Regions from separate parts of the Homo sapiens genome. Here all the other regions are linked to region 2. The links are contacts of gene promoters, found by promoter capture Hi-C in blood cells and fetal thymus (Javierre and others, 2016). All regions are on one chromosome and are shown on one strand. Each heading gives the region's core, a stretch centred on a gene start or on the middle of the fragment in contact. The rest is flanking DNA. Distances are from core to core; before and after follow the strand shown.

Region 1 (3,029 bases), core at 438-2,937, 170 kb before region 2:
TGACCGCCATTATTACGGATCATTAGTCTTGGTCCATGTGGTTCAGAACATAGAACTGCTGCCTGCCTGACCTCAGTAATTCATGCAGAGAAACAGCATTTGGACCTCCCAGTACAGTTCATTTTGTAGAATTTTTACACTGTGTGGATATAAGTGGCTGTCTTGGAGGTCCCTAGGCTTGCTAAGCACAGAGGCCTCAGACCCCCAGACTGGACAGTGCCCCACCCCCAGATGTCAAGTTCACCTGGCCTCCTCTTCTCCAGCCTCAGTCACCTTCTGCTGAACAGCTCCACCTTGGCCTTGCTTACTCACAGACTAAGCCAGATGACCTGCCTGCAGAGCCTCAGGTGAGTGACCGAGCGGCCCCATGGGAATGAGTGGGAAGAAACACTTCCCACTCAGTTGGGACCACATCCAGGGAAGCACTGAGGCCACCTCCCAGGGGATCCTTTGCGGATCCCTCCCAGGCCCATCCCTGTGCCCTCCCAGGTGGGTGCCCACTGCTCTTGCCTTCTAATGCCATCAGCTTCCTCCTGGTTACAAAAGTGGCCTAAAGGGCTTAGGCCCACGTCGTAGAACAACCCTTGAGGCACACACACAGTTCACCCTGGGCTCTTGTTAAAATGCTCATTCTGATTCCCCAGGTCTGGAATTCTGCCTAGACTGTGCTTTTTTTTTTTTTTTTTTTTTTTTTTTTTTTTTTTTTTTTTTGAGTTGGGGCCTCACTGTGTGGCCCAGGCTGGAGTGCAGTGGCAATGCACAGGTGCAATCGTGTTGCACTGCAGCCTCAAACTCCTGGGCGAACGTGATCCTCCTGCCTCACCCTCCTAAGCAGCTGGGACTACAGGCCTAAGGCGTTGCACCCAAACTTAGCATTTCTTTTTTTGTTTGTTTGTTTTTGAGACAGAGTTTCGCTCTTGTTGCCCAGGCTGGAGTGCAATGGCACAATCTCAGCTCACTGCAACCTCCGCCTCCCGGGTTCAAGCGATTCTCCTGCCTCAGCCTCCCGAGTAGCCGGGATTATAGGCATGTGCCACCACGCCCGGCTAATTTTTGTATTTTTGGTAGAGACAGTGTTTCTCCATGTTGGTCAGGCTGGTCTTGAACGTCCAACCTCAGGTGATCTGCCCACCTCGGCCTCCCAAAGTGCTGGGATTACAGGCGTGAGCCACCACGCCTGGCTTCAGACTCTGCATTTTCTAACAAGCTTCCGGGTGGTATCAATTCTGGGGGCCACGGTCAGCACTTTGAGTAGTGTGGGTCTAGACTCAGATGGGGTGGCCTTCCTACACTCCCTTTGTGATTTCACTCCCTGCTGCTAGGATAAATAAACATGACACTTACTTTCAATGTGATTTTTCAAAACATGAAATCTTGTGACTAAAAACAAATCCAAGCAGTGACACAAAGCATTGCTTTGTTTATATCCAAGTACACCTCCTACCCCCTACCTCGGGCAGAGCAGAGTAGGTAGGAAATGAGGTTAGAGAGTTCCAGGAGGTTATATCATATTGGACCATTTCACCCAAAATTAATTTACTGAAAGGTGATCCATTAAAGTGTATTTATTTATTTCTATTTTATTTTTATTTTTTGAGACACAGTCTCACTCTGTCGCCCAGGCTGGAGTGCAGTGGCATGATCTCACTTCACTGCAACCTCTGCCTCCTGGGTTCAAGCGATTCTGGTGCCTCAGCCGCCCAAGTAGCTGGGATTACAGGTATGCACCACCACGCCCAGATAATTTTTGTATATTTTTAGTACAAATGGGGTTTCACCATGTTGGCCGGGCTGGTCTCGAACCCCTGACCTCAAATGATCCACCTGCCTAGACTCCGAAAGTGCTGGGAATACAGGTGTGAACCACTGCTCCCAGCCCCATTAAAATTTAATTTGCAAAATAAAAGAAAGTAAAAACAACATGCAAACAAATACTTCCCAAGGGGCTAAGACCATTTGCCTCAGCTATTTATTGTTTTTTCCTACCCAGGCAGAGCAAGGTCAGGGCTCAGTAAAGACAATACCCTGGGTTTAAGGAAAAACCTACCATTTGCATGGATGAGAACACATATGCCCCTGAGAACTGATCTGCGTGAATCAGAGAATCCCACGTGAAAGTGGCATTCAGCCGGGCCAGCCCGGAGATCCCTGACACAGAGGCTGAGGTGAAGCTTGGCAAAGAAATGTAGAGACTCCTCCTGGGCCAGGGGCTCTGGATTTGTTTCCACCCAGCCTGCAAGTCCCTAAGTCTCTGGCCAGTCACAGCTCACTGCTGGCTCTCAAGTTTTCTCACCTGGACACTGGGGACAATAATTCCCACCTTGCTCACCACTCCCCACCTGCCATGACCCCCAGAAGTTTTGCTACCAGCATATGAATTCCTGGGCGTGTAAGGCTTTGCAAACTGTAGAGTTCTTAGCACAGCACCTGCAAAGGCCTTTAAGCTCCTGAAAGCCTCTTGGTCTATTCCCTGCTTTTCCAGACTGAACAGGAACAGTATCGGTGATGTCGGTTGCTGCCACCTTTCTGAGGCTCTCAGGGCTGCCACCAGCCTAGAGGAGCTGGAGTGAGTTGCCCATTCTGCCCCCAGACCCAGGACAATTTTGGCCGGGAAAGATGACAAGGGCAAGGGGCTACCTGAGCACGCCCTTTGCTTCTTCATCTCATCTCCTTCACCCACTTCTACACTGTGTAAACAACCTGGGGCCTAGAAGCTTGGGGGACCCAAAGACAGGATGTAAGAGTGTCAATTGTAGCAAGAGGGATTTAGGTCAGACAATGGGGAGAACATCCTAAACAGAAGCCAAGGGTTAGGAGCTGTCACTCAACATGGGGTGATGGGGCTCTCTGTGTGAGTCGAGGCCCTTCCTGGGACTTCAGCCTCCCCTTCTTTTTCTGGGAGTGGGGTGTGGACAAGATGAGACGGCAGAAGGCTGATGAAGCTGTTTTCTCCCCCAAGCTTGAGCCACAACCAGATTGGAGACGCTGGTGTCCAGCACTTAGCTACCATCCTGCCTGGGCTGCCAGAG
Region 2 (3,434 bases), core at 808-3,307:
GAAGAAACTCTCTGAGTTTGCTGTAAGCTGTGTGACCAGGGCTTGACTAAACAACTCAGTCCAGTAATTCAGCAAATCTTTTTAAATGCCTATCTTCCACTTGGTGCTAAACAGAGTAACTCATAATTGATGTCACCTGACCGGGTGCGGTGGCTCACGCCTGTAATCCCAACACTTTGGGAGGCCGAGGCGGGCAGACCACCAGAGGTCAGGAGTTCGAGACCACGCTGGCCAACATGGTGAAGCCCTGTCTCTACTAAAAATACAAAAATTAGCCGGGTGTGGTGGCACGCGCCTGTAATCCCAGCTACTTAGGAGGCTGAGGCAGGAGAATCCCTTAAACCCGGGAGGCAGAGATTGCAGTGAGCCGAGATTGCGCCACTGCACTCCAGCCTGGGCAACAGAGCAAGACTCCCTCTCAAAAAATAAATAGGCCGAGCGCAGTGGCTCACGCCTGTAATCCCAGCACTTTGGGAGGCCAAGGCGGGCGGATCACCTGAGGTCGGGAGTTCAAGACCAGCCTGACCAACATAGAGAAACCCCATCTCTACTAAAAACACAAAAAAATTAGGCATGGTGGCGCATGACTGTAATCCTAGCTACGCGGGAGGCTGAGGCAGGAGAATCGCTTGAAACCGGTAGGCGGAGGTTGTGTTGAGCCGAGATTGCACCATTGCACTCTAGCCCGGGCAGTAAGAGCGAAACTCCATCTCAATAAATAAATAAATTAGTAATAATTTATGTCACCTTGGTCACAGCTGTCACACCCGACTGTGTCTTTGTAACCATCTTTGTTTCAGATCCCACGGATATCTATTTTAAGTCCATTCAAAGATGTCTGCTAGGCCGGTTGTGGTGGCTCACACCTGTAATCCTAGCCCTTTTGGAGGCCAAGGTAGGTGGATCATCTGAGGTCAGGAGTTCGAGACCAGCCTGGCCAACATGGTGAAACCCTGTCTCTACTAAAAATTCAAAAATAGCCGGGCATAGTGGCACGTACTTGTAATCCTAGCTACTCGGGAGGCTGAGGCACGAGAATCGCTTGAACCTGGGAGGCGGAAGTTGTAGCCAGCCGAGATCGTGCCACTGCCCTCCAGCCTGGGCGACAGAGCAAGACTCCGTCTCAAAAAAATAAAAAATGTCTGCTAACCCATTCTGACTGGCCACCTGACCCTCAGTTCATACCTTAAACCCCTCTAGTTCCTCTAGTCATATACCACACTTTGGCCATAAGGTATCATGCAACTAAAGAGACACAATGCTTAGTTGTCCAATCAAGAGAAATCAGCTCAAACGAATCCTTTTTCAAAGTTTGGCAGTTTTGAAGAGGCCTTTTCCTGAAAGGTATCTGATTCCTGATTGCGTGGCTCAAAATAGTTCTTCAATTCTCATCTTGTATAATTAGTCAAGAAACCAATTACTGCCGAGTAATCTTTATGATGCGAAGATTATAACGTAAATTACAGGACATCGACTTCTTGCGATGGGGCTTTCCTTCCACGAGGGGTAGGAACTGTCTTGAAATCAGACGTCAGCATCACCTGGTTCAAGGGATAAGGGACTGGCTCTCCAGCGACTTGGCAACTTACAAGCGCTCTTTAAACACGCCTTAAACTACTTATTTAATCCTCCACACTCAGGGAGGCGCAATTTATTCTCGAGTTGCGAGTGAGGAAATTCTGGCTCGTGGCTTCGATTCCTTCATCCGTACAATGGGGGCGACTTGAGACGGAGTTCCCACACAACGGGTGCTCGCCGAAGCGCCGCATCCCTCCGCACTCCCTTCCGGGACTTCCTCTCCCTGTCTTGCCCCGCCCCGGCATCGGTAACGCTCGCCTGTGATTGGATGCCGGCCGGCCGTGAGGCGGTGGAAGGGGTTGCGGTGGCCATGGTGACAGGAGGCGGGGCGCCGCGCCCCTCCGGCAGTCACCGAGGCCCGGACCTGCGGCGTCGGCGGCGCGCGCAGAGGGCCAGGCGGGCGTAGAGGCCGGACCGACGCGTGGCGGCAGAGGGTATCCAAGGCCGGACCTGGCGCGCAGGCGCTGACCCGACCTGGCAGTGAGCTGGCCGCGGCCTTGGCTGAGAGGCCTTAACCCCGCCGGGCGGCCGCGCCCTGCATGCGAGTTGGGCCGCGGGCGGGGTTGGAGCCTACTCGGGGCGACTGCGATGGACGCCTTAGAAGGAGAGAGCTTTGCGCTGTCTTTGTGAGTAGCTCCTCCAGGGCGCAGGCGACTTGGGGCCGGAGGCAGCGGGCGTTCGCCCCGGGGCCTGACCCTATAAAACAGGTGTCCTTAGGGGCCGGGCCGGGCCGGGCCGGGCAGGGTGGGGGCCGCCAAGGCGCCGTCCCAGCTCCAGGCCTTCCTTTTGTAGAGTACTAAGGCTGCAGGTTTCAGGCCCCGCAGGACAGGAGTGCGAGGCGGGTGTCACCGTTGATCAGCGCCTCCATCACAATCCCCAGCCGCCAACCCTCAGCTGTCAGCAAAGCCTGGAGGGGTTGAGCGCCCGAGGCCCCTCCACCCCTCCCTGGCCCCCGCCTCCCGGACTCCTGACCAAATGACCCCCCCCGGCAGGTGTTTCGCCCGTGCCGGGTTCATGCTCACAAGCAGACAGGTATGGGGTGATAGCTAAGAGCCTGGAGAACAAGTTTTTATTAAAGTGGAGTCATGACATTGAACGTTCATGTCACAAACGTGCCGAGTGTGTTTTCTTCTGTTTGGACTTACTAGATCAGTCAGTCATTCTTAATCGTTGAAGATGGGTGATGGGAAGTTCGTTTTGCTACTCTTTTTTCTCTTGTGCATGTTTGAAAACGTCCATACTAAAAACATTTTTTTAATGCATTATTTGAAATAGCACCTAATCCAGGCATGTTTTTCAGCTCCTCCGCCTCTGATGCAGAATTTGATGCTGTGGTTGGATATTTAGAGGACATTATCATGGGTAAGCTTTTAAGATACTGTTTTTAAGGACTTGCTTGTTTCTTTAAGGACATTGAAATCAATTTGGAGAGTTAATTTTAAAAAGAGAAAACATCAAGCTGCCTGCAATTTTTAATGTAGCACAATGTAATACTTAAGTAAAGGCTTACTGCAGTTTGTCTTAGAAACAAACAGCCCAGTACTCCTGAAAACATCTAATAAGCATAGATTCAGAGGCTGGAAGGGACTGACTCAGGCTAATAGGGCACCAGCAGTGTGGCGTTCTTCGCAAAACTATAGGAAATAATGATCTACTCTATTTCTTATGTAGGGTAAGAGCAATTTCAATTTTAGATAGTTTTGAGTTTTAACATTTTCATGCCATAAAACACATAAAACCAGGCCAGGTGCGGTGGCTAACGCCTGTAATCCCAGCACTTTGGGAGGCCGAGGTGGGCGGATCACGAGGTCAGGAGATCAAGACCATCCTGGCTAACACGGTGAAACCCTGTCTCT
Region 3 (3,518 bases), core at 215-2,714, 170 kb after region 2:
CCTGGTAACGTCCTCCTTCTGTGTAGTTTTGTAACTGTGCAGGGCAGGGCCATCTGTTCGGACCCCAACAACAAGAGAGTGAAGAATGCAGTTAAATACCTGCAAAGCCTTGAGAGGTCTTGAAGCCTCCTCACCCCAGACTCCTGACTGTCTCCCGGGACTACCTGGGACCTCCACCGTTGGTGTTCACCGCCCCCACCCTGAGCGCCTGGGTCCAGGGGAGGCCTTCCAGGGACGAAGAAGAGCCACAGTGAGGGAGATCCCATCCCCTTGTCTGAACTGGAGCCATGGGCACAAAGGGCCCAGATTAAAGTCTTTATCCTCAGTCTGTGTCAGCGTGTCTGTCCCCACAGCGCAAGATGCGCTTCCACTCCGGCCTGTCACTCTGGGAGGGTTCTCAGAGAACCTCTGGTCCTGCCCTGTGCAGGTCGGAAAGGGAAACTGAGGCTGAGAAGGGCACGTGGCTTCCGCAGACCACGCACCAGTGAGGGGAGGCCCTGGTGAGAGGCCCGGGCAGGGGCGGGGTTGGCGGGGTCCTGGGAGGCGGCCGCTGGATTCTCTCCCTACCCACCCCAAGGTCTCCCGGTTTCCCCCCAGCCCAGCTCCTGTTCTTGCCCCACGTGGAGCTGAGGACAAACTTCCCCGAGGTGCTGGAGTCAATTTCACAGACTGGCCAGGACCCTGCCGCAGGCCACAGCTCTGCCCAGTGCTGGGGAGCCCCCTGGCCAAGGGTGGGGGAAGCTTGTAGCCCTGTCCTTGCCTTCCCCTGCACTCACTGCAGTCCAGCTGGCCCGGCTCCTCCTGGCCCTGGCTCCCTCTCCCCGCTCAAACTCCAGACCCCAGCTCCAGGGCGAGGGGGCTCTGTGGGTCCTGGGCCCTCTGCCTGCGGCTGACTTCCTAGCCCACTCCAGGCTCAGGCAGGCGGGCGCCACGCGGCCCTGTGGTTCCTCCTGACTGAAGTGTGATCCCCACCCGGCCCTGGCTGCGCCCAGCCTGCCGGAAGCCGGCCCAGCACAACCGCCCACCGACTCGCTCCCCCAGCTCTTAGGGACTGCCCTGAAGCCGACCCCTGCTCCGCGTGGTTCTCTCATTGTGTGTGTGTGTGTGTGTGTGTGTGTGTGTGTGTGCGTGCGCGTGTGTGGCAGTCCCAGCTCCTCCATTAGGTTGAGAGCTCCGTGAGCCACTCCGGGGACCCCACACCCCTGTGCTAAAAAAGATGGGGACTAGAGGCTCAGGACACCCCACCCCCAGACCCCTCTGCCCATGCCCAGCTAAGGGCTGAGCACAGAGGAGTCGGGGCCTAAGCCTTCTAGTTCTCTCTCACTCTCCCAACCAGCGATGGGGCCGTGGCTTCTCTCTGAACACAGTTTGGCGGCAGGGGCGCGGGTCCTTCTCTTCCGAGGACCTTGTGGCGGGCATTGTTTGGTGGGGCTGCGGTTAGAAGGGCAATTTCCAGGCCCGGCTGTTGCCTCCTGCTGCTCCCTTGTGGCCAGTCAGCTCATTGCAGGGCAGATGATAGAACCCAAGTTTACTTTCCAGTACGGGCACAGCGATAACGAGGTTGATAAAACCAGTGAACTGGCTTGCCTGTGACTCTAGGGTCTCTTCAGCCGCAAGTGGGCTCATCTCCTGTCCTGATGCCGAGGAGGATCACTTGAACAACTGCCTAAGACCCAGAGTCCTGGGGATGGCCCAGTCTGAGTTCTTCATGGAAAATTGTCCTCTGAATCCACCGGGAGGAGGAAGGATGATCTAAAAAGGGAGGGAGGCAAGGAGAAGCTCCTAAGACAGCAAAGGCCAGAGACAGCCGGGGTCTGGACCCCTGCACCCTGCAGGCGAGAGCTGGAAGGACTCTCAGAGTGCAATGGCTCCATCTCAGCTCACTGCAACCTCCGCCTCCCAGGTTCAAGCGATTCTCCTGCTTCAGCCTCCTAAGTAGCTGGGATTACAGGCGCCCGCCACCACACCCGGCTAATTTTTTTGTATTTTTAGTAGAGACGGGGTTTCACCATGTCGGTCAGGCTGGTCTTGAACTCTTGGCCTTATGTGATCCACTCGCCTTGGCCTCCCAAAGTGCTGAGATTACAGGCATGAGCCACCGCGCCTGGCCTCCAGCAAACTTCGTTTAAAAAAGCAAGACCTTTTTTGTTTTTTCCCTACTGAAATCCTACTCAGAAGCCCATATTGTAAGCTTAGGTAAGTAGAGCTGCCGTGGAGGCCTGTGAGGAGGTGGGGAGTTGCCAGAGGGTCCCTGAAAGTGAGATAGGGTGGGGCATTGCATAAAGGCAGGGAAGAGGTGGATCCAGGACTGGCAACAAAACGCAGGATTCAGAATCCAAGTATTCACGAGCAGCATCCGGTGCAAGCTGGGGGATGGTGAGATGCAAGAGATAGGACAACTGCCATGTGACCTTAGGGCATTTTAAGGAGGTGTGACCTGGAGACTGCTGTGATTGGAAAGACTGCTGGGAGGGAAAAAGAGGAATGGGCAGGTTCGGGGTGAAAAGTGAGGAGAAGCGCCAGACTTATGTTGTTTCTTTCACCTGGTAGGTGCCTCCCCTCCTCCCCCACCCCACCCCTGCTTTTTTTTTTTTTTTTTTTTTTTTTTTTTTTCAGATGGAGTCTGGCTCTGTGACCCAGGCTGGAGTGCAGTGGTGCGATCTGGCTCACTGCAACCTCTGTCTCCCGGGTTCAAGCGATTCTCATGCCTCAGCTTCCTGAGTAGCTGGGATTATAGGTGTGCACCACCACACCTGGCTGATTTTTGTATTTTTAGAAGAGATGGGGTTTTACCATGTTGGCCAGGCTGGTCTCGAACTCCCGAGCTCAAGTGATCCGCCCACCTCGGCCTCCCAAAGTGCTGGGATTACAGGCGTGAGCCACTATTCTGAAATCCAGTTTCTCTTCAACGCTCAACTCAGTGCTGCCTCTGCCACAGCCAGCCTACTCAACCTCAGCTGTGTGTCCTCCACCTGCACCCAACGCTCACCTTAGTCTAATCCTGACCACACTCTACCCCTTGTAATTGGAGCTGCTTGGGTGATTTACCCAATAAACTCACTGAGCAGGTATTTGGGTCAGGAAACAGTACCAGACTCATTTATGAGGAGGGAAAAAAGCTTTGTGCACAGTGTATATTTGATTTATACATTTTCATCAGTGCTGCTCAGGTGAATTCCACAAGGGGCACTAGTGGGGAAAGAGAAATTTCCTGGGGAGCCCTAATAACCCGGCTTGAAGCATATTGCATCTCCAAACGTGGAAATTAGAATTGGGTTGTTTTCCAGTGGCCCACCAGAGGGCACTCTGCTCTTAGGAGGAAGTTCTGAGGCTGATGCGCCAGGGGCCCTGACCCCACCAGCCAGACTCCGGCCCCATCGCTGTCCCCAGGGGCTGGGATCAGCCACATCTGGTTGTAGCTGCACTAGGCCTTGGGGCAGGGGTGTCTGTAGCTGGCCGGCTCTCCTCTTGTGGGAACAGAAGCAAAGAAACCGCCAATTACACTGTCTGGGGTTTGC

The links. The method cuts DNA at HindIII sites, captures the fragments that hold promoters and counts their contacts. A CHiCAGO score of 5 or more calls a contact.
Region 1: a fragment that was not itself captured here is called in contact with the fragment with the promoter of ARL2BP in region 2 in 1 of 17 cell types (endothelial precursors); the score reaches 5.1 in endothelial precursors.
Region 3: a fragment that was not itself captured here is called in contact with the fragment with the promoter of ARL2BP in region 2 in 8 of 17 cell types (endothelial precursors, naive CD4 T cells, non-activated CD4 T cells and 5 more); the score reaches 12.8 in endothelial precursors.

The regions. Positions count from the first base shown.
Region 1 is chr16:57,074,337-57,077,365 of GRCh38, forward strand. It overlaps NLRC5 (NLR family CARD domain containing 5), which reads left to right. Exons shown (of 49, transcript NM_001384950.1): 39 at 264-347; 40 at 2,483-2,566; 41 at 2,960-3,029. Among named protein-coding and RNA genes, the nearest start is that of CPNE2, 17 kb to the right of the region's middle. The HindIII fragment of the contact is 964 bases long and covers 1,206-2,169 here.
Region 2 is chr16:57,243,202-57,246,635 of GRCh38, forward strand. It overlaps ARL2BP (ARF like GTPase 2 binding protein), which reads left to right and starts at 2,058. Exons shown (of 6, transcript NM_012106.4): 1 at 2,058-2,204; 2 at 2,879-2,940. The coding sequence starts at 2,167. It overlaps LOC124903697 (a long non-coding RNA gene), which reads right to left. Exons shown (of 2, transcript XR_007065082.1): 2 at 2,614-3,434. RefSeq lists silencers at 1,777-2,156, 2,247-2,456. The HindIII fragment of the contact is 5,456 bases long and covers 1-2,943 here.
Region 3 is chr16:57,415,739-57,419,256 of GRCh38, forward strand. It overlaps CCL17 (C-C motif chemokine ligand 17), which reads left to right. Exons shown (of 4, transcript NM_002987.3): 4 at 27-325. The coding sequence ends at 123. Among named protein-coding and RNA genes, the nearest start is that of CCL17, 13 kb to the left of the region's middle. RefSeq lists enhancers at 379-894, 895-1,410, 1,927-2,441. The HindIII fragment of the contact is 1,450 bases long and covers 740-2,189 here.